Linked DNA regions of Homo sapiens: all the other regions are linked to region 3. The links are contacts of gene promoters, found by promoter capture Hi-C in blood cells and fetal thymus (Javierre and others, 2016). All regions are on one chromosome and are shown on one strand. The core of a region is centred on a gene start or on the middle of the fragment in contact, and the rest is flanking DNA. Distances in the headings are between cores, read along the strand shown. Region 1 holds the start of TPT1 (tumor protein, translationally-controlled 1). Region 2 overlaps B3GLCT (beta 3-glucosyltransferase). Region 3 holds the start of UFM1 (ubiquitin fold modifier 1). Region 4 has its middle 13 kb from the start of HSPH1. Region 5 holds the start of ZC3H13 (zinc finger CCCH-type containing 13). Region 6 overlaps ESD (esterase D). Region 7 holds the start of LRCH1 (leucine rich repeats and calponin homology domain containing 1).

Region 1 (2,700 bases), core at 3-2,502, 7.0 Mb after region 3:
TTAGCCAATCTTTAAATCCTGTAAGATTCTAGACATCAGCTAGGTACTGCCAGTATCACTTACGATTTCATGTAATCTTTGATGTACTTCTTGTAGGCTTCTTTTGTGAAACTTGTTTCCTGCAGGTGATGGTTCATGACAATATCGACACCAGTGATTACTGTGCTTTCGGTACCTTCGCCCTCGGGGCCTTCAGCGGAGGCATTTCCACCAATGAGCGAGTCATCAATGTTACCTTCTGTCCTACTGACCATCTGCATTAAGAAAAAGCAGTATAATTGCAAAAGACACAAACGCATCCAAAGCACCTTCCACGCCAATAGTTCACGGATAAGAAGTATTCTTAGTTCTTGCTGAAAATAAAAAAAGCACCATTTTGGGAATAAAGTTGTGACCCGTGGATTTCTCAAAACGACCTAACTTAAAAGAGTTGTCTGTTGGCCGGAACAAAAAATGGGGTCATTAAAAAGTTGTTTCCAGTTGCGGGCATGTGATGCCTCCGGTTGGTAAGTGGGGACAGGACAAACACGAAAGGACTCCAGGCTCCTAAGCCGGAAGCATCATGTCCCGGACAACCCCGGGAGGAGGATGGGCGCCGAGGCGGCGGGCCTATTTCCAGGATCAGCTCCGCCTCCAGTTTTCTAGAAAAACCCAAGCCCGGAAAGAGCGTCTCCTCCGCCAGGAGGCGGCGGGGAGGATTGCACAACCTCAGGCGGGGGAGCGGAGGAAACCCGAGCCCGCTCGGCCCGGACTCCCCCACGCGCAGGCCCGACCGACTCACCTTCCCCTCCACCTCCAGGCACAACCCGTCCGCGATCTCCCGGATCTTGTAGATGTCGGAGAACATCTCATCGTCTGCCGGATACACAGAGCCGCCCATCACCGTGCGCCTGGCGCCGCCATTTCCCGCATTTCCCGCGCCGGCGGCCGCACGCGGGATCTGCCCCTCCGTAGCACACCAGAGCTGGGCGCGAGCCCCGGGCACCGACCCCTCCGCGCTCGGCTAAGACCGCCGGCGTCCCCTAGGCCCGCGACGGCTGCGCCTTCCCCGCCCCCACCCGCACCCCAGACCCCCGTGTGCGGCAGTAAGGATAGTGCAGTGAGGACTCACGGCTGATGAGGTCCCGGTAGATAATCATGATGGCGACTGAAGGGAGACGACGACGGCGCTAGCTTAGCACGAGCCTGAAACTCGGAGCGAGCGCGGTGCAGCCGGAGCGGCGCTCGGGGGGAGGGGGGAGCGGGCGGAAAAGGCCGACTCAGCCGCTCCCCAACCTCATATAGAGGGCACGTCCCTCTACGTCATCGCCCGCTGCGCCTCCGGAAGCGACGCAGGCGGTGACGTGGCACGAAGAGCCGCGCGGGGGCGGGGCCACAGCGGGGGCGAGTCGGGGAGGTGAGCATCCGGGGACTTGAGGCGGAGACACAAGGCTCCGTTCCACTGGGCACGCCAGCGGGTAGGGGTGGGGGCGGGGAGGTGCGCGCGCAGCGTGGGAGGAGGCCAACTCTCGGGGCGCTCCCTAGCCCTGGGTGGGTGGAGCGGGGGAAGCGGAGTACGTTGGACCCGGCTCCGCCCTACCCCACGGGGCCGCCTGGAGAGGTGCTGGGAGCTGGGTGGAGCTTAGAGGAATTAAACTTTGGCCCTGCGCCTCGTCCAGCCTAGGTTCCACCCTTTTCTGGGAACGTGAGTATCAACCAAGGTAGGAGAACGTCGCATTTAGGGAGGGTCAGGCCCTCTGGCCTGGGGTAGATCTCGGGACTGCCCGAGGGCCTCTGACAACTTTTCAGCATCTGCCCCAGGGCTGCCCCAGCTGGAGTTTTTGGGACGCTTTTGTGGGGGCACCGCTGAGTCCGGATAGTGGGACCCAAGTCGTCCTGCTCGGCCCCTGGGGAATAATCGTGTGGGGCGCAAGGTCTGTGGGAAGGGACTTGGAGAGGAGGGAAGATGTCACGGGAGTCTGCACAGGGTTTCCATGTGTTCCAATTTTGTCCCATAATTGAAAGCTTGTGGCATTCTGTGGCGGACGGCTACGGAGCTAGCTCTTCCCTTTACTATTTCGCACTTGGTCTTGGAAAAGTATGTTGTCGCTTTAAGATGAAGTTGAAATTTTATCCCTGGTGCTAGAGGGTCACACAAAGGGAGTTTCCCACCTGCCCCACCTGTTTTTTGAAGGACTTTACACCCAATTACTAAGTATTAAAACAAAACAGGTCCTGCATGGTAGCTCATGCCTGTAATCCCAGAACTTTGGGAGGCAACTACTGAAACCCTGTCTCTACACACACACACACACACACAAATTAAAAATTAATTGGGTGCGGTGGTGCCTGCCTGTAATCCCAGCTATTAGGGAGGCTGAGCTGGGAGGATCGCTTGAGCCCGGGAGTTGGAGGTTACACTGAGCTATGATTGCACCACTGCGCTCCAGCCTGAATGACAGAGCAAGACCTTGGCTCAATAGCAAAACAAAACTTCCGTATTTAGTCACATCGTCACATCTTTGGCATAAGGCAAAGATACATGCCAGTATGAAGTCTGAAAGCTTGTTCTATTTCGCAAATATTTTGTGCTTTGTATCCCTTAGAACTAGGATTTGCACCAAGATTCCAATTGTGAACAAGTTCGATCCAGTCCTACTTATAGAAGTGTTCATTCTGGTAAATCAAAGTATCAGACAATTATAATACATTAACAATTGT
Region 2 (2,700 bases), core at 159-2,658, 7.1 Mb before region 3:
CTTTGGTTCTAAAGTCTGGCACCAGTTTCAGAATGAGAAGATTGAGTCAGGCCTCCAGGTTACCATTTGTTAGCTGTGTGGCTTTTAGTGGCTTTGAGCTTCAGTTTTCTCATATGAACAGGGCGAATGGACTGGATAGAATACTAGCACTTTGCCACCTCTTACAGTTTTAACATACTGATCCCGTTGTAGCAGAGATTGACAGCCACCTGCGAAGTAACCCTTTAGCCCTTGTTTTCCTAACAAAACTAATATAATCTGGGTTGGGGGGAAGGATGGTGGGGTGGTGGTGGCAGCGGTGGCAGCAGCACTGTGAGACATTTCTCAGTGGCCTTTGCATATAGGGGCAGCTAGTGCTCTACAGAGATATCTTTAGAGATTGTTTGGTGGGGCTCCTGGTAAAGCTCATTCAAGGTGGCTGACTCAGCTGGGATGCAGGCCTTTTTGCTCTGTGTTATCCTCCTTCCCATTGCCTATTAAGTGGATCTGAGGGATGGAGCCATGGTGGCCATCTTGTGACCATGAGGTGACCTTGAAGATGGAAGCCAGTAGTAAGGATGGTAGAAGAGAAAGATAGAAGAAGCCTGGATGCCAGATGGATGTGGAGCATCATGTCAGCTCTGCATTTCCTGTTTGCAGACTTGTATTGCATGAGATTATATGCAGCCAAACCTAATCCTATTGCCAAACCTAATCCTAATTGATAGAAGAAGCTTATTCGAACCAATGATATTGATAAAATAATAGGTATTAGCTTTTATTTTTCACATGCCTGTCTGTCACTTCCCTGTGTGAGCCAACTTTGTATTTCTTAGCACCTGCCAAAATTGGGGATGGTTTTTCATTCTGAGCCAGGTCTTGCCCAGATTCCTTTCATTGCAATGAGTCAGAAATTTTAGGACACCAAGAGTCAGACCTAATTCCAGGTTGTTTTGTGTTTTTTGATTCTTAAAACCTTCTCTTTATTTCTTAAGCAGTATGCAGATATTACTGGCACAGATTTTAATCTTCTGGATGGATTCTTTGTCATCCAGGTAGTCCAGGACCTCCGAGTTGGCATGGCTCCCCAGGTCATGGACTTGACCCAGGGGAGTTTGCCAGTAGCCAACAGCTAAGCCAGTGGGAGGGAGGGAGAGCATCTGTTTCAAATAGCAGTGTGAATTCGAAGGAGGTGCTTTGACCCCTTTGGTAACTTCCTGCGGGACAAACATTGTGGGCTCGGTATTTGAGCACTTCCTTATAATTGGCTCTTTTGGAGCCAGGTTTTTTTGGTGTGTTTTACTAGACTCATTATGAAGCAAGCAAGCAAGCATAATTTTTAGGCATAAAGGTACTACTTAGAGAAAATTTGCAAATGTTCTGTTTTTCCTCTTGTAGCATTATGTGTGATCCATCTTTGGCTTTGCACAGATTACTTCTTAAGAACAATATATGGGAGTCCCCATAGGTTAATCTCATCTTTTCCATGATAAAGGAAAAGTTGTGAGTTTCAAGGGTTCATCAGACCTATTGAGGAAGTTCTTCCTTACTACCATGATTTCAAAGTTCTAGTCACTAAGCAACTCCCAAAGAAACCTGATTTAACGTAGGCGTTGACTTGAACTACTAGAAGAATGTCAATTTAAAAATAGTGTTAAAAAGAAAAACTGCCCAAAGCCTCTCATTTATTCAGAGTAATGTGGGTACCTACTGTGTGTCAGGCATCGTGATATTGCAGGAACAAGACAGATCTAGTCTGTCTCTACCCTTGGGGAGCTTGCAGCCCGAAAGGCAAGGTGATGTTAAGCAGTAATGACTACAGAATGAATCGTGTCTGTGCCAAATGCTGTGGAAGAGATGTTCAGGATGCTGTGAGAACATGCTGCAGGGAGATAGATGGCTTTTGCCTAGACTGGGGAGATGGATCTCAACAGGGAGCCATCTTGCACCCCAGGGAACGTTTGTTGCTGTCTGGATACTTTTTGGTTATCCCAGGGGCTGGTTTGGCAGAGGGTGCTACTGACATCTAGAGTCAGGGGTGCTGCTGAACATCCTACAAAGGCACAGGACAGTTCCACCCCACCATCGAACAATTAATTATCGGATCCAAAATGCCAACAGTGGCAAGCTTGAGAAACTGTGGGGTAAGGGTCAAGGAAGGCTTCCTAGAGGATGTGACGTTAGAGCTCAGACCCGAAAGGGAAGCAGAAATCAGGTAAGTGGGTGGCAGAGCTTGGTGGTGAAGGAGCCAAGTGGAGAAAGGACGGAGGACTGAAGGGCTGGCAAGATCATTAGGGGCCAGGTTGGGTAGGGCCTTGCAGATCAGGGGACATATTTTGGGGTCATCCTTAGAGCAGAGGGAAGTGTTTGAAGGGCTGTAGTGGGGCAGTATGTGATATGGCTGCCGTTTCCTGAAACTCACTCTGGCTGTCTGATGGAGCAGGAGTTGGAGGGGGCCATTGTGGATATAGGGAACTGTGAGGAGGCTGCTGGACACAGGTTGTGAGAGATGATTAATAATCTCTCAGACTCTGGGACTGATTAGGTTCAGTGTGCTGGGAGAAAGGGTGGGGGAAAGGATGAGTCATACATTTCTGTCACATCCACCATGGGTAGTAGTGCTGTTTACTAACTTGGGCACTGAAGGAGGAGGACCAGGTTTTTAAAAACAGTTTTATGTGGTTCAATGTACATAACATACAGTTTATTAAGTATAATGAA
Region 3 (2,700 bases), core at 163-2,662:
ATCCTTATTACTATTCTCACAAGTTTTAGTCACACCCACTAATTGAATAGTTTCAGCTATTAAGGCTGTAACTGTTGATCCCTGTATCTGTCAATCAATATTTGGCTTCATCTACATATATGGTAAGACCATTATTTTAAAAAGTGAGGATGGCTGTCATGAGAATGTTGGAGTCTTACTTGCCTACTCAGAACCAGAACTCTCTCCACTGGGAAATGTCACCATAGAAGATCAGTTGGCTGCAAAATTATTGTAAAGATGAATTTGATCTCCATTATCCCTACTACAGTTCCTTCCTGGTTCCTCTCTTAAGTATCTCTCCTTAAGAATCTGATGCATATTCTAAAGATCAACTAGATTGCCCCATTATTTTAATGCCTACCTGCTTCCTCCTTTGTCTATTCATGCTAATGTTTTAAAAGGGCATTTCAGTCATTGTGAGACAGACGCATATTTTCCAAACACAGAGGTTTAGATCTGTAATAAAGTTTAGAGGACAATTTTCTTCCGTCATCACTACACAGGATGTTAGATCCTAGAGAGTTGACGCCTACCTGCCTTACTCATCTTGGATTCCCCAGAGTTTAGCTTAGCGCCGGGCAAATAGAAAGGGTTCAAAGTTGGTTGTTAAATTGAATAAATGTGGTCAGTGATTAGCAACTCAGCGCACTGGTTTAATTAGACCATATAACAAATTACTGAAATCTCCTGTTCATAGATGTGTCTTCCCAACTAGACGCCACGTTCCCCAAACGTAGAAACCTCATTTTTTCTCACCCACCCCAGCGGGAGTCTTGGCATAGATAATTCGTACTTGATAGCTCTCTTACTTAACCGAAATTCAATAGTTATAAATCAGTATCGGAAAGTAAAGCGTGAAGGAGAAACTATGAGAAATGTAAAGGATATAACAGGATTGGTTTGCTGGAAAGACGGAAGAAAACTAATGATAAAGCAGTGTTACAATTCCTGCTTCTGGAGCACCAATTAAGCTTTTCCGCGCTCAGGTTGCCTTAGAAACTTTAGAGCGCGTCCGCCCCAGCCCCGCCCCCGGCCTCGCCCCGAGCTTCGCCCCAAGTCCATCTCGCTCTTCATCCGACTACCCCATACCCTTACTTCCGCCCCAACCTGCCAACTGGAACCTAGGGTCCTACGCTCTATGCCCACGCTTATTCTGCCTGACTAAAAATATGGTAGCAAATTACCAAAGTTAGAAAGATATCTTATAAATATAATCCATACTTTTTTCTTAGATATATAAACGCAAAAGCACAAGATATTTGTAATTTAAAAGCGCCATCTAGCATGAGCTCTTAGGGCCAATTTTCAGGCAGTGCGTTGGATAGCAACAACTTCGGAGGTCCCCAGATTGCAGAGGGAGACGTGGACGTGAGTGGAGCGGGGCGGTCCCCAGCACACTAGAGGAAGTCGTGCTACCCCCGCGGAGTTGTCGTGTGTTCTGGATTCATTCCGGCACCACCATGTAAGTGTTTGCTTACCGACTGCCATAATTCCTGGTCCAGCTGCCCGACCCTGACTCTCTCCCGCTCTTTTCCTCAGGTCGAAGGTTTCCTTTAAGATCACGCTGACGTCGGACCCACGGCTGCCGTACAAAGTGTGAGTAGCTCGGCCGAGATGGGCCTTTTGGGGCCGGACAAGACGGGGCTGGGTTGGGGATGATCCGAGCTTTTCCAACAACTACCCCACGCAGTCTTCATCTCTTCACTTCATCTACTTTCCTGGCTCGCGCCCTTCCAGGAGCCTTTCCCACCGGAGCCTGCGAGGAGAGGTCCGTACTTGCTCGCTAAGTGTCAGCTTGGCAGCTTGGCCCCGTCACGAGGGTGTGGGTGTGTTTCTGATTAGTGACCTCCCCTCGGAATTCATTTGGTGGGCAGGTGGCGCGGGAGGACAGGTGGACCAGGTTCTGGTAATTTGTTGGGATTCTTAAACAGTCCCCATCTGCTGGATATTAGAAAAGCGTTTCACCGCTTTGGCCAGCTGGTTGAGGAAGTTAAGGAAGACATTCCATCTTGATAGTCAAGACTTTGAAATTACTTGAACATTTGTTATTCCGCGGCTTCTGAGTTTCGTTGTGTATGAGTAACTCAGCAGTCGGGCATCACAAAGTAATGAGACTCAGATCACACCCTTCCTATGCTGGGATTTAATAGAGTATTTGGTAGGAATGGGAAATGCAGATAGGGGATAGTTTATCCATGTGGGGCCTTTACTTATCCTTCGCAGTTGAGTGATAGATTTTAAGTAAACACTCTTGAGGTTATTGCAGTTGGAAGTAGCATGAAATGTAGCAAAGAACAGGATTACAATAGAATTTTTTGCATAATTAATTAGTACCTTGGCCTACCTAGCTGACTGATAAATTTCAATGATTTACCAATCCATGATCCGTACAACCTCTCAGCCTTTTCCTCCCTTGATCTTTTCATCTCCAAAATATCCCTGTTACACTTTATCTCAGGTGTTCATGGTTGCAGCCTAGAACCTTAAGATTCCAATAATTGCTCCATCTCTGAGATGTCGTTTACAGGCACTCTTATGGATAAATACATTCTCTCCTACATGATTTACTATAATTTCTCATCTACAACGTTTCATTTAATCCATTAATCACAGTGATTTTTTATCTGTAGCTATCCCCACTTCTATTCCTTACCTTACTCCTTATATAGTTAAGAGTCC
Region 4 (2,700 bases), core at 42-2,541, 7.2 Mb before region 3:
CCCAGCTCAGAAAGGCACATACTAAAGACGTGTTTCCAGGTAGTCTCTGAGTACTAAAAGATTGGTAAGTGTTCCAGGGACCTTTTTGCAGTAGCAATGGCTCCCCAGGATATTCATCATGACAAAATAAAACGAATATGGCCACACCTTCATGTTCTTAAATAGATTCTTACATCATGAAAACACCTATCGACTTGTAATTTTTTTCTAACTAGTCAGTTCTTCCTCAGACAGAATAATCTGGATGAGCCTAATTCCTCTGGCTAGGACTTTTAAAATCATGTTGGCACTGGGGCTTGTTCCTATAGCTGGTTGGTACAACCTTCTAATAATACCAAGATGGTGTTTTGTGTCGCTGACTGCTCCTAGAAGAGGGTGACCCACTGCCCCCCAACTTGGGCCACTCACTGTACCACTGACTCAAACCCAATTCAATGGCCACCCCAAGCAGGACCAGGGATGAGATTTGACCGACTGCAGACCCAGAACCACCACAGCTAGAAAAGCAGTATAACCATGAAAAAGAAATTTCTGCCAAAACATCTGTGGGCTAAGATTACACACAAGTATGTTTGAGACTAGGGGAGTCGAAACATAAATAAACTGTAGAAAGGAGCATGCTAGTGCAGAGAGTGGGACTCCTAGAAATGTGAATTTATTCTCTTTGCCACCCAGGGGAGCCAGAGACTCATGAAAATCTTACACAAGCTGTCAAAGTTACGAACCAGGGCAGGGAAAAACAGTATATTAGTTTGGATTTTTGCAGTTGCAGGCAACAACAACAAAAAAATCAGCCAACCAACAAAACAAAAATGGGAATTTACTGATCCACATAATTTGGAAGTTTTAGGGGGCATCTAGTTTAGGCTCAGCCATATCCAGGAGCTCAAGTGACATCCTCAGGACTTTCTCTCTGCCCATCTCTCAGCTAAACTCTGCTCTGCGTTGCTTCCCTTCTCAGATGGGCCTTCCTTATGTAGGGGCAAAGGCAGACCTTGCAGCTCCAGAGTAACATAGTTCTTACCGTAAGAAAGTCACAAAGAGACTGGGCATGGTGGCTCATGCCTGTAATCCCAGCACTTTGGGAGGCCGAGGTGGCAGATCACTTGAGGTCAGGAGTTCAAGACCAGCCTGGCCAACATGGTGAAACCCCATCTGCTAAAAACACAAAAATTAGCTGGGCATGGTGGTGCATGCCTGTAATCCGAGCTACTTGGGAGGCTGAGGCAGAAGAATCACTTGAACCTGGGAGGTGGAGGTTGCAGTGAGCCAAGATTGTGCCACTGCACTTCAGCCTGGGCTACAGAGGGAGACTATGTCTCAAAAAAAAAAAAAAAGTAGAAGAAGGGAAGAGAAGAGCCAGTGAGTGTGACCTGGTACCTGAAGTCACTGTGCAGAGCTATCTGCCCAAGCTACTGGTGAGGATGATGGAGAATCAAACCACCAGGCCCCCAGCATTACTGCAGAATGGGCAGGGATGGTGCCTCACAGACATGCCAGGCAGGCAGAAAAAATAACGCCCATGACAGCTGGCGAGAAGGGATTTTCACTTACTGAGCACCTCAGCACAGTGCTGGGTGCCATGAATGTCTTACATCACCTCCCAAGGTTCCTCTTAGATAGGTACCTTCTATTATCATCCCCATTCTGCAAATGAAAGTAAGGCTCAGTTGGATTAAATAACTTCCCTGAGGACAACCAGTAAATGGTAGGGCCGGGTATTAATGACCAAAACCCTTGCTTGATCAAACGGGGAGGAAAAGTGAAGGGGAAGGGGCACTGTCCTCAGCAGACTGGGAGCCACAGAGGTGGTGGGTGGGGACGCAGGCAATGTGAGAAAACAGGACAAAGTGCTTTAAATAATTTCTTATTTAAAGCAGAGCCTAAGCCACAAAATCTCTGACAAGTAAGCCCTGGTGAATGGGGCACAATTTTTGTTCTATTAGGAGAGCAAGTTAGCTGGGCGCGATGGCTCACGCCTGTAATCCCAGCACTTTGGGAGGCCAAGGTGGGCGGATCACGAGATCAGGAGATCGAAACCATCCTGGCTAACATGGTGAAACTCCATCTCTACTAAAAATACAAAAAAAAAAAAAAAAAGCCAGGTGTGGTGGTGGGCGCCTGTGGTCCCAGCTGCTTGGGAGGCTGAGGCAGGAGAATGGCGCGAACCCAGGAGGCAGAGCTTGCACTGAGCCGAGATCGTGCCACTGCACTCCAGCCTGGGCGACAGAGTGAGACTCCTTGTCAAAAAAAAAAAAAAAAAGGTATGGAGATGGGATGGGGTGAGGCTTCAGGATTCTGGGTGGGACAGTCCTCACGTCTGATCTCACACAGAGCAGATCACTAACCTGCCTCTGGTAAAGTGGCCCTGGAGGGGTCTGAAAGCAGCCTTAGGTGGTGAGTCCAGCCCTAAGAGGCTCTCCTATCCCGTGGGGCCTTCAGCCTTCAGTTGCTCAATCTCCCTGGTAATTGAGACCAAGCTGCTAAATATTGTCAGAGGGCTGCGCTGAGACCAGCAGAGGGTGAGCAGCCCACAGAAATGAATCTGGAGGCCAGTTGGGGCAGAGAAGGTGACTGACTGGATGAAATGAGGATTAACTGCATGTAGAGTGTGTTTGACTTTAAACTGTGAACTACAGGTCTCTGGAAAGTGTTTGTAATAAGAAAAGTTGGCATTTCAGTTTCTCCTTGAATTGAGGA
Region 5 (2,700 bases), core at 25-2,524, 7.7 Mb after region 3:
ATAGATTGTATTCACAAAACGCTCCAATATATTGTACTAAAGCCAGTAATTTCAAATGTTACAGAACTAGACCCCGCTAACTGGCACCATATACCCATAGACTGAACTGCATAAGTATTTATTCTCCAACGGTATCGCGGACTTCGAAAACTTGAGGTGTAAAGATGTTTTCCAAATTTTTAAAACTACTTTAAAAATCCAAAAATCTTAAGAGACTTCATACTCCCATAATTTTCAAAGTAGTTCGAATTACCTGAAAGCCCCATAGTATAACCAAATACCTTAAGACTACCCTTCACAAACAACATCTTACCAACATAATTCAAGTATTATCAACTCTAAATAATTTTCAAACCACATAAATTGCGTTAGCCTATTACAGAGAGATAATGCCGCCAAACAGACTCTCTTCTTTCTATTCCACTTTCCCCCGTTTCTGACAGTTGCCAAAACTACCTACCTAAGGCTTGTGAAGATAAAGTAGCACTCAATTCCCAGGACCTAAATCGTTATCACTGCTGAGGGAAAAAAAAAAAAACAAGACCAATCACAAGTAAGATGTTTTTCTCTAACAGATCTGGAATGAGTATAGAGGAAGATTCTAAATTTAAGCCCAAATTGCTGCACCCTTCCATCGCACACAAATACGAACACCATACAAGGGTTCCCGTGCTTACATCAAATGGTAACGAGGGGTACAGCCTATTGTCTGAGTCTACTTATCGCCCTTAGACAAATGCCAGAATCATAATCAGAGTGAGAAATTACGCCTGAGCACAGGGGGCTATTGCAGAGTTAAGGGTGGGATGCTCAAGGAAAGCTCAAAATCCCAGTGACTCAAGCAAAGACGGGGGGGGGTAACCCGGGCCTCCGCATTACGGGTCCGCTCAATGCCTTCCCCAGATACCCACACCAATTCACAGAACGCTTACTTCCTCCCCAAGCTCCCTTCGCAAGTGCAGTCCGGAGGCACCACCGCCGCCGCCGCTCCGAGGAGCGGGGGAGGCGACTCTGTCCCCGCGCCTGGACCCAGGAGGACGACGACGAGGAGAAAGCGATGCGCGCGCGGCTCCCGGGAACCGGCTCTTGGCTAGCGAGGAGCCCCCGGGATGGCTGAGAAGCAGAACCAACCCGCCCGCCGCCTCTCCAGGGTCAAGCGAAACTGGGTCGCAGGAAGAAAAATAACGAAGAGATTGTAGATTAAGAAAAGGCAACAAAAACACTACCAGGCCGCTAGGAGGACCGCCTCAAAATGCCGCCGGAAGTCAGAGGTTTGCCCTGTTCCTCTGTAGACCCAGGCAGCTTCCGGCCGTCAGATTAGTCGTCAGTGCGCAGACACCACCCTTCGTGGACACGCCCTCTAGGCGTAAGGTTCCATGCGAGCGGTAAGAGTGCGGCGGGACTTGGAAATCGAATCTGTGCTCTGTGAGAGATCCTAGGAAAGGAAACTGGGAGCCCGGGAGAACTAAAATTCCCAATTAAAAGTGAATTTAAGTGAGTTTTCTCTTTTTATTACATAATTCCTTACCATAAACAGCTGTTGTAAATGCGCAAAATGCGGCATTTGTTGACAGTACCTAGAGCCACTCATTCATTCGTTCAACAGTGTTTATTGAGCAGCTGAGCTGGAATGAGAGGCTATGTTTGTCGTTTTTGACACCCCTCCCCTTTCTGGGCCATCGCCTAATTACCGTGGAGCAAACGGAATGCATGGTTGTATTTCTAAAGGCACAAGCAGAAATTTATTGAAAATTTGGAGCAGAAATCTTTAATGTACTTCTGACCACCCTTCCTTTTGTTGAGTAGGATCCAATGATCAGCGTGAGATGATCATTGATTAAACTTGCTTGAGATGGCTAGTCAAACGTCGAAACTTGCTTGAGATGGCTAGTCAAACGTCGAAAATCAAAGAAAAAGTAGGTAACTAGACTTTTACAATTTTTTTTAAAGGGTAAAAAGACATGAACCCTAGTCTGCCTTAATGGCAAAGTAGCACTTATTAGGTTCTCTGACAGAACCAAGGAATAGGAAAATCTTTTATCAAAACTACGGATAAAACTTAAAAATAATTTGATACAATGATTTGGTCTTGCTGGAATCAGTAAATTAAAATACGGAAGCAGAATGATAAAATCAGGGGCATTAAACATTCCTAATGACATGCCAAGCTATTTTAGAGACAGCGGCAAAAGCTTCTCTACAGGTGGGTTTGATGTAACGCTCCGGCAGCAAGAATCCGTATGTGCCCGTATCTCGAAGTTCAATTGTAAACGAATATTTGATGCCCAAATCATAGATCCAATCGTCCCCACCTCCAGGAGCTAGGTCTAAAAGAAGAAGAAAGAAATTGTTGAAATACAGACGTTTCAAATTAATTTACAAACTGGGAATTGTTTGATTTAAATGTTTATTTGTTTGTATACCTTTAGATTTTTTTCAGTTTTTAACTAATATAAACAACTTTACAATGAGTACCCTTGTTTATACATAATTGCTTCTTTGTCTCTTTAGAATATTCTTCCCTAGAATAGATTTGCTAGTCTAAGGCTCTGTACTTTTTGCAATTACGGCATGTTCCCAAATGGACGTCAAAAGAACTGAATTCATTTATACTTCCACAAGCAGGGTATGAATTTGCCCATTTCCCCTTCCCATACCATCAATAGGAATTATGAATTCTGATAATTTTATGGGCGAAAA
Region 6 (2,700 bases), core at 50-2,549, 8.4 Mb after region 3:
TATTAGTTACTGAATATTAACTTTAGCTACTGTTAACAATCCTATCTTAAATAATGAACTTATAGAGAGAGATACTAATTTTAATATATTAATACATATATATGAGACCAACAAATAAAATTTATTTGCTCCATTATTCCACAAGGAAACCAGATTTTCTTAAACTTAGAAAGGACTATATCCACTTTGCAAAAGATGGTACACTGAGCACGTATCTGGTACATAGGAGTCTGTATCTTTGCTATTCGTCTATTTTAATAAACCTCAAGTTGTCAGTTTTCTCTGCTCTTAAAATTCAAAATCAAATGCTTTTCATTTGGCCAGAAGAAACAAGATTAAAACACTTTTTAAAAGTTGGTAGAATATTTTTTAAAAAACAAAGCTTTTAAAGTATTTTTTCTACCCACCATTTTAGAAACTATCTTTAATTACAAATCAAAAAAATATGTTAGGCTTAACAAGAAATATGACATAAACTAAGAACTAGATATGACATACTGTGATATACTATGATATCTGATACATTATAATAGGTGGTTATATTTTTCAATAGAATTTTTCTATGTGAAAAATAGCACGTTTTAAAACAAGCTATTAGTGGTATTTTCATTCAATGTTCAGAGTAACATATAAACAATAAAACAAGTTTACCTGTCCAATTGCTGATTGCTTTTTGCTTGCACCAAATGGTAGGCGATTCTGAAAAAAACACCAATGGTTTACAAATGGGATATACTTTTCACAGCAAAGGTTATACAGAGCTTTTATATGCATATGCATTCTCAATAGAGATGTTTTCTTCTTTTGAGGTAAATGACTGTACACCCTGATGGGATACCACATCACCACTTAATTACCTTAATTGCCCATAATCTAATTATTTGCCACAGGCCACCTTAATACCTATTTTGCCATAAAGCTTGTTGGTACTTGGTCAAAACCATCTGCTGAAGTAAAAGTACTATGAAAGTTTTTTATCTTTTTAAATCAATAAACAAAGTTTTCAAGTGTAATTTCGAAGCATGAGATGTAGTCAACTCCTGAGTGAAGAAAATAAGAGTGGGGACTAGGTAAGTAGAGGAAGATGGATCTATCTGGCTCAGTTGTAAGTCGAACTTGTAACATGGGGAGAAAGAAGGGAAGAGATGAGGACTGAAGGACTACTACTAGGGTGACTAGAAAGGATGTATAAGAAAAGTGGGCTTATGAACGATGAAGTGACTGATATTCAGTAAGAAAAATATATATGGAAACTTACATAGTATATATCATGTCACTTATCTGGTAGATTTCATTTAGGCTCTAGAACAAATATATATTTAGGTTCTAGAACAGATTTTGTGGGAGAAATAGGGTGACAGAGTAGGGTGGAATACCAAAAAACCAAACAACACCCTTCCTCCTTCCCCTCCAAAAAACAACAACAACAACAACAACAACAAAAACAGAAAAACAATTTCACAGTGCCAGTGGGAGTTACACAATTTTTCCCAAATGTTAGTGAACATCAACATTCTTTGGAGAAGAAAGGGTCTCTCAGTGCATAATACATCCATTCCCCTAAAGGTCAAACCTTACTGTTCTTCCCTTTATTTTTTATTTTTTGGAGATGGGGTCTTGGCTGTGTGGCCCAGGTTGTAGTACAGTTGCATAATCATGACTCAGTGTAACCTAGAACTCCAAGCTTCAAGTGTTCTCCTACCTCAGCCTCCTGAGCAGCTAGGACTACAGGTGCGTACCACACTGGAATATTTTTTTTTTTAATTTTTTGTAGAGACAGGGCCCTTTACTTATTAAAGTTAAATGTCATCCACCTCCAGAAATCTGAGTTCTATTTTTATCCTTCTTCCCCTGTGTCTCAAGTTTTCCATAAATCTCTACATGTGTTTTTTTGTTCCCATTCTCTCAGATTCCTTGGATTTTGATGTTTCTTCATTTCCAGGATGTCCTATTCCACTGGCTCTTAACAACCTAGACAGGTGTTCCCAAAACCAACAATCTACAGTTCCAATAACTGCTGTTGACCACCACTGTGTTGTTCAAATCCTCTTCTCAGTGAAAACTCAGGATCTGGCTTCTTCCCTTTCACTCTGTCTCCTCCCACCTCCCTTTTCTTTTTTCTTCACACTCTTTCCCTAAACCTCATTCCCTAAATTTCAACTACATTTTCTGGGTGAAATAATCTAAATCTGCATCTCTATAACCAATCTTTCTCAAGCATTAGTACCCATAATGACATTTCTTGCTGGACTCTTCTACCAAGACATGTCACCAGCTATTAAAACTTACCACACCTAAAATTAAGCTTCTGCATCTCACCTTCAAACCATTCCTCTTTTCATTGCCTCTCTTTTTCAGACTCATGCCTGTCTTGCCTAATCTACATTTGAGATGCCTCAAAGTTACCTTCTTTTTGAATTCCCACTGCCATCATCCTAATTATATATAAGAAATTAAAACTTAGCCTCTTCCTTTCTTCCTAATACATCCCACTACGATCAATCCTGCATGAAAGCCTAGGGTTTTAATCCACTTAATTTACTGGTCAACGGATCCCTACCAACAGCTCATCTGCAGCCTAATACGGCCTACGTGGAATTGTTAGTCATTTTTATTTAGTATTTTAAAAACTGTGATAAAAACACATACATAATATTTACTATCTTAACCATTCCTAAGTGTGTATTTCAGTAGTGTTAA
Region 7 (2,700 bases), core at 154-2,653, 8.2 Mb after region 3:
CATGCCATACTTAAGTGCCGAGTCCATGAAGTCACCAGTTCCAGCCTGTTGTCTAGGCCATCAAACTTATGTATTACCACTTAAAAAACCAGCTCCCCTACTCCAAGGGTTGCATTACTTTCGTGCTTGACACCCCGACAACCCCGCACCCACCCCCCGACTCATTTTCCCCAAGCCAAGTCGCTCATAGGGGACAATCAAGCCTTAAGAATAGAGCAAAAATAAAGGCCCTGGAAAGTTGGACATGAAGCTTTAACTTCAGGAAAGGAATGGTATTCTATTAATCGTCCAGCTGGTCTGCCCTTAGGGTGTCAGATGTTCTCTGTCGCCCCTGGTGTGCCAGCATTGGCCTGGGTGCCACTGGGTGGCTGATGGCAGAATGTGAATTCACTTGCAAGCGGACATGTTCGTTTCCATGCCCCAAAGCGGGAAGAAGAAGGGCACAAGGAGACTTCGATGGTTCTTTCAGCTCAGACTCGAGCTGTGACTGATTTGCTGTTTGGGGTCACTGGCTTTCTAGCCTCTCCTGGCACCACCCAATTTCGGGGAGCAGCCAGCTCATCTTTCTCCTACGACAATGTCTTCTGTCCCCCATAAACACTGCCCTCATTTTGAGTTTTTCTTTCCTATGTCTGTAGCTTTCTTCTGCCGCTCAGCAAACACTCTGTCCCACTCGTATTCGTCCCTTGGCGCTGGCGTCTGGCCCAGGGGTACACTGTGAAGGAGGGCAACCCTAGATTCTGAGGGCCCTAGCTCGAATCTAGCGCCCCTCTAACTGCAGGGGTGACCTTAGATACATTTATTAACTTCCTCTGTAGACTCAGGGGAACAACTTTGGCACTCCTGGGGTCCCTGGATTAATGAGGTAACTTACGTAGACTCCCTAAACAAGCGTCTGGTTCATTGTAAGCGCCCAAATGCCAGGGGGCATCTGCAGGGATGACCCCATAGTGAATGAAAACTGCCTCTTGGGGATCTCTGGGTTAAACGGCCAGAATAAATCGCAGAATTGAGAGAACCCTCTCCTGCCCCAAACCTCACTGTACTGTAAATCCCATTCATTGCCTCCCGCCGTTTTATCCGTGTTCTCAGACCACCCCCCTATCCCCGCAACCTCCAGTCCCCTAAAGCCTCCTGGGCGGCAAAAGGACGCCCAGAGAGAGGTTCGGCGCCTCAGTTGCCCCGGAGCAGACGTCCAGCCCCGCCGTGTACCCGATTGCGGGGCGGATCGCGGCAAGGCGGCGGCGGCCGGCAGAATAGGCGCGGAGGAAGGCTCAGGCGGGGCAGACTGCGTGGGGGAAGGAGGAGGAGAGAGCAGACGGCGGAGGAGGGCAGAGCAGCCGGGGGGAGGGCGCAGGGGCGGGAGGAGACACATGCGCGCTGCCGCCGCCGCCGCCGCCGCCGCAGTCCTTAGCTTCCCGGGGACAGGAAACCTTCAAGACCGAGCTGCCACGGCCGCCTCCCCGCCCGCCCCCCATTCTACGCGCCTGCCCACACCCTCCTCCCCTCCTTCCAGCGCCTTTCGGTGGAGCACTGCGGCACTCAGCCCGAGCTGCCGTTTTCCCCTCGCGGGGAACGCTGTGACCCCCCCGCAGGAGCGGCGGGGCGGGGTGGGGGGGCCCGGGAGAAGATGGCGACGCCGGGAAGCGAACCCCAACCTTTCGTCCCGGCCCTTTCGGTAGCTACTCTGCACCCACTTCATCATCCCCACCACCACCACCACCACCATCAGCACCACGGAGGAACCGGCGCCCCCGGCGGGGCGGGTGGTGGCGGCGGTGGCAGCGGGGGCTTCAACCTGCCCTTGAACCGGGGTCTGGAGCGCGCGCTTGAGGAGGCGGCCAACTCCGGGGGGCTGAACCTGAGCGCCAGGAAATTGAAGGAATTTCCCCGTACCGCAGCCCCCGGGCACGACCTCTCGGACACGGTGCAGGCAGGTGAGTGAGGGCCGAGGGGCGGGCAGGGGTGTGGGTGCTGTCTGGGTGTCTGTCGTGCGTTCCCTAACGCGGTGGACAGTCGGAGATCTTGTCTTGCTGGGGGAGGGAGGGTCCATCGGCCCGTTGTCTCCCGAAGAAGGGACTCGCGTGGGCGCGGAAGAAGCGGGCCCTGGAGAGGGCACGGGGGCCCTGCCTGGTCCGGCGATGCAGTGCCAGGAGGGCAGGGGTGCGCCGGGCCTCTGCGCCTGAGAGCGAGGGGTCTCCGGCTCTCCACCCTGTGGCTGCCGCGCCAGGGAAGTAACCGCGGGGCTGGGACTTGCAGGCGCGCCGCGTGCGCGCAGTGTAAGTGGGAGGTTTCAGGCGGCTGTGTCGGCTTCCTGGGCCCCGCGCAGGGCTGGGAACTCCAGCGCGGACAGCGGCGTCGGCGCCTCCAACCAGTTCAAGCCGTCTTTGCATCGAGGCGTAGCCCATCCTGGTGGGGAAACCCAGACAAAGGTGGCACGCCCTCGGCCGAGCCAGGGGCATCGGCGCAGTGCCGCGAGCCCCCTCGGCGACATCGCCGAGCGATCGGGCAACTCGGTGCCGCCTGTGAGGTGCCCAAGTTTCCTCTCCCTGCGCTTGTGCGGGAAAAGAGCCGCCGGGCTTGTAGTGAATCCCAGTCGGCTGCCGCTTCGGAAGCGATCGGCCCTCTTCCTTCCGTGCCTTTTGCTCACCGCCCACACAGTTTGGGTCCTACCACCGAGGCTACCTGGTTCTCAGTTAC

The links. The method cuts DNA at HindIII sites, captures the fragments that hold promoters and counts their contacts. A CHiCAGO score of 5 or more calls a contact.
Region 1: a contact is called between the fragment with the promoter of TPT1 here and the fragment with the promoter of UFM1 in region 3, in 1 of 17 cell types (total CD8 T cells). The highest score is 5.8, in total CD8 T cells.
Region 2: a fragment that was not itself captured here is called in contact with the fragment with the promoter of UFM1 in region 3 in 1 of 17 cell types (non-activated CD4 T cells); the score reaches 6.8 in non-activated CD4 T cells.
Region 4: a fragment that was not itself captured here is called in contact with the fragment with the promoter of UFM1 in region 3 in 1 of 17 cell types (total CD4 T cells); the score reaches 5.1 in total CD4 T cells.
Region 5: the fragment with the promoter of ZC3H13 here is called in contact with the fragment with the promoter of UFM1 in region 3 in 1 of 17 cell types (non-activated CD4 T cells); the score reaches 5.4 in non-activated CD4 T cells.
Region 6: a fragment that was not itself captured here is called in contact with the fragment with the promoter of UFM1 in region 3 in 1 of 17 cell types (total CD8 T cells); the score reaches 8.3 in total CD8 T cells.
Region 7: the fragment with the promoter of LRCH1 here is called in contact with the fragment with the promoter of UFM1 in region 3 in 1 of 17 cell types (non-activated CD4 T cells); the score reaches 5.5 in non-activated CD4 T cells.

Annotation. Positions count from the first base shown.
Region 1 is chr13:45,339,931-45,342,630 of GRCh38, forward strand. It overlaps TPT1 (tumor protein, translationally-controlled 1), which reads right to left and starts at 1,253. Exons shown (of 6, transcript NM_003295.4): 1 at 1,112-1,253; 2 at 782-855; 3 at 64-254. The coding sequence starts at 1,139. TPT1-AS1 (TPT1 antisense RNA 1) reads left to right here and starts at 1,415. Exons shown (of 11, transcript NR_024458.1): 1 at 1,415-1,457. LOC124903169 (a long non-coding RNA gene) reads left to right here and starts at 1,504. Exons shown (of 2, transcript XR_007063781.1): 1 at 1,504-1,700. RefSeq lists enhancers at 323-1,112, 2,692-2,700 and silencers at 1,010-1,079, 1,160-1,269, 1,430-1,629. The HindIII fragment of the contact is 2,255 bases long and covers 1-2,002 here.
Region 2 is chr13:31,202,294-31,204,993 of GRCh38, forward strand. The region is part of intron 1 of B3GLCT (beta 3-glucosyltransferase); the gene reads left to right. Among named protein-coding and RNA genes, the nearest start is that of B3GLCT, 3.7 kb to the left of the region's middle. The HindIII fragment of the contact is 1,394 bases long and covers 712-2,105 here.
Region 3 is chr13:38,348,439-38,351,138 of GRCh38, forward strand. It overlaps UFM1 (ubiquitin fold modifier 1), which reads left to right and starts at 1,413. Exons shown (of 6, transcript NM_016617.4): 1 at 1,413-1,483; 2 at 1,561-1,617. The coding sequence starts at 1,482. RefSeq lists silencers at 943-1,052, 1,750-1,964 and an enhancer at 1,163-1,372. The HindIII fragment of the contact is 2,541 bases long and covers 991-2,700 here.
Region 4 is chr13:31,173,570-31,176,269 of GRCh38, forward strand. No RefSeq gene overlaps it. Among named protein-coding and RNA genes, the nearest start is that of HSPH1, 13 kb to the left of the region's middle. The HindIII fragment of the contact is 3,215 bases long and covers 1-2,700 here.
Region 5 is chr13:46,051,472-46,054,171 of GRCh38, forward strand. It overlaps ZC3H13 (zinc finger CCCH-type containing 13), which reads right to left and starts at 1,275. Exons shown (of 19, transcript NM_001330564.2): 1 at 933-1,275. CPB2 (carboxypeptidase B2) reads right to left here. Exons shown (of 11, transcript NM_001872.5): 11 at 1,715-2,327. The coding sequence ends at 2,143. CPB2-AS1 (CPB2 antisense RNA 1) reads left to right here and starts at 1,377. Exons shown (of 3, transcript NR_046227.1): 1 at 1,377-1,494. RefSeq lists enhancers at 459-995, 996-1,531, 1,061-1,230, 1,241-1,440. The HindIII fragment of the contact is 2,282 bases long and covers 1-2,190 here.
Region 6 is chr13:46,792,746-46,795,445 of GRCh38, forward strand. It overlaps ESD (esterase D), which reads right to left. Exons shown (of 10, transcript NM_001984.2): 2 at 652-699. Among named protein-coding and RNA genes, the nearest start is that of ESD, 3.1 kb to the right of the region's middle. The HindIII fragment of the contact is 765 bases long and covers 918-1,682 here.
Region 7 is chr13:46,551,767-46,554,466 of GRCh38, forward strand. LRCH1 (leucine rich repeats and calponin homology domain containing 1) reads left to right here and starts at 1,404. Exons shown (of 20, transcript NM_001164211.2): 1 at 1,404-1,937. The coding sequence starts at 1,631. RefSeq lists silencers at 1,348-1,537, 1,598-1,657 and enhancers at 1,861-2,561, 2,218-2,537. The HindIII fragment of the contact is 3,547 bases long and covers 249-2,700 here.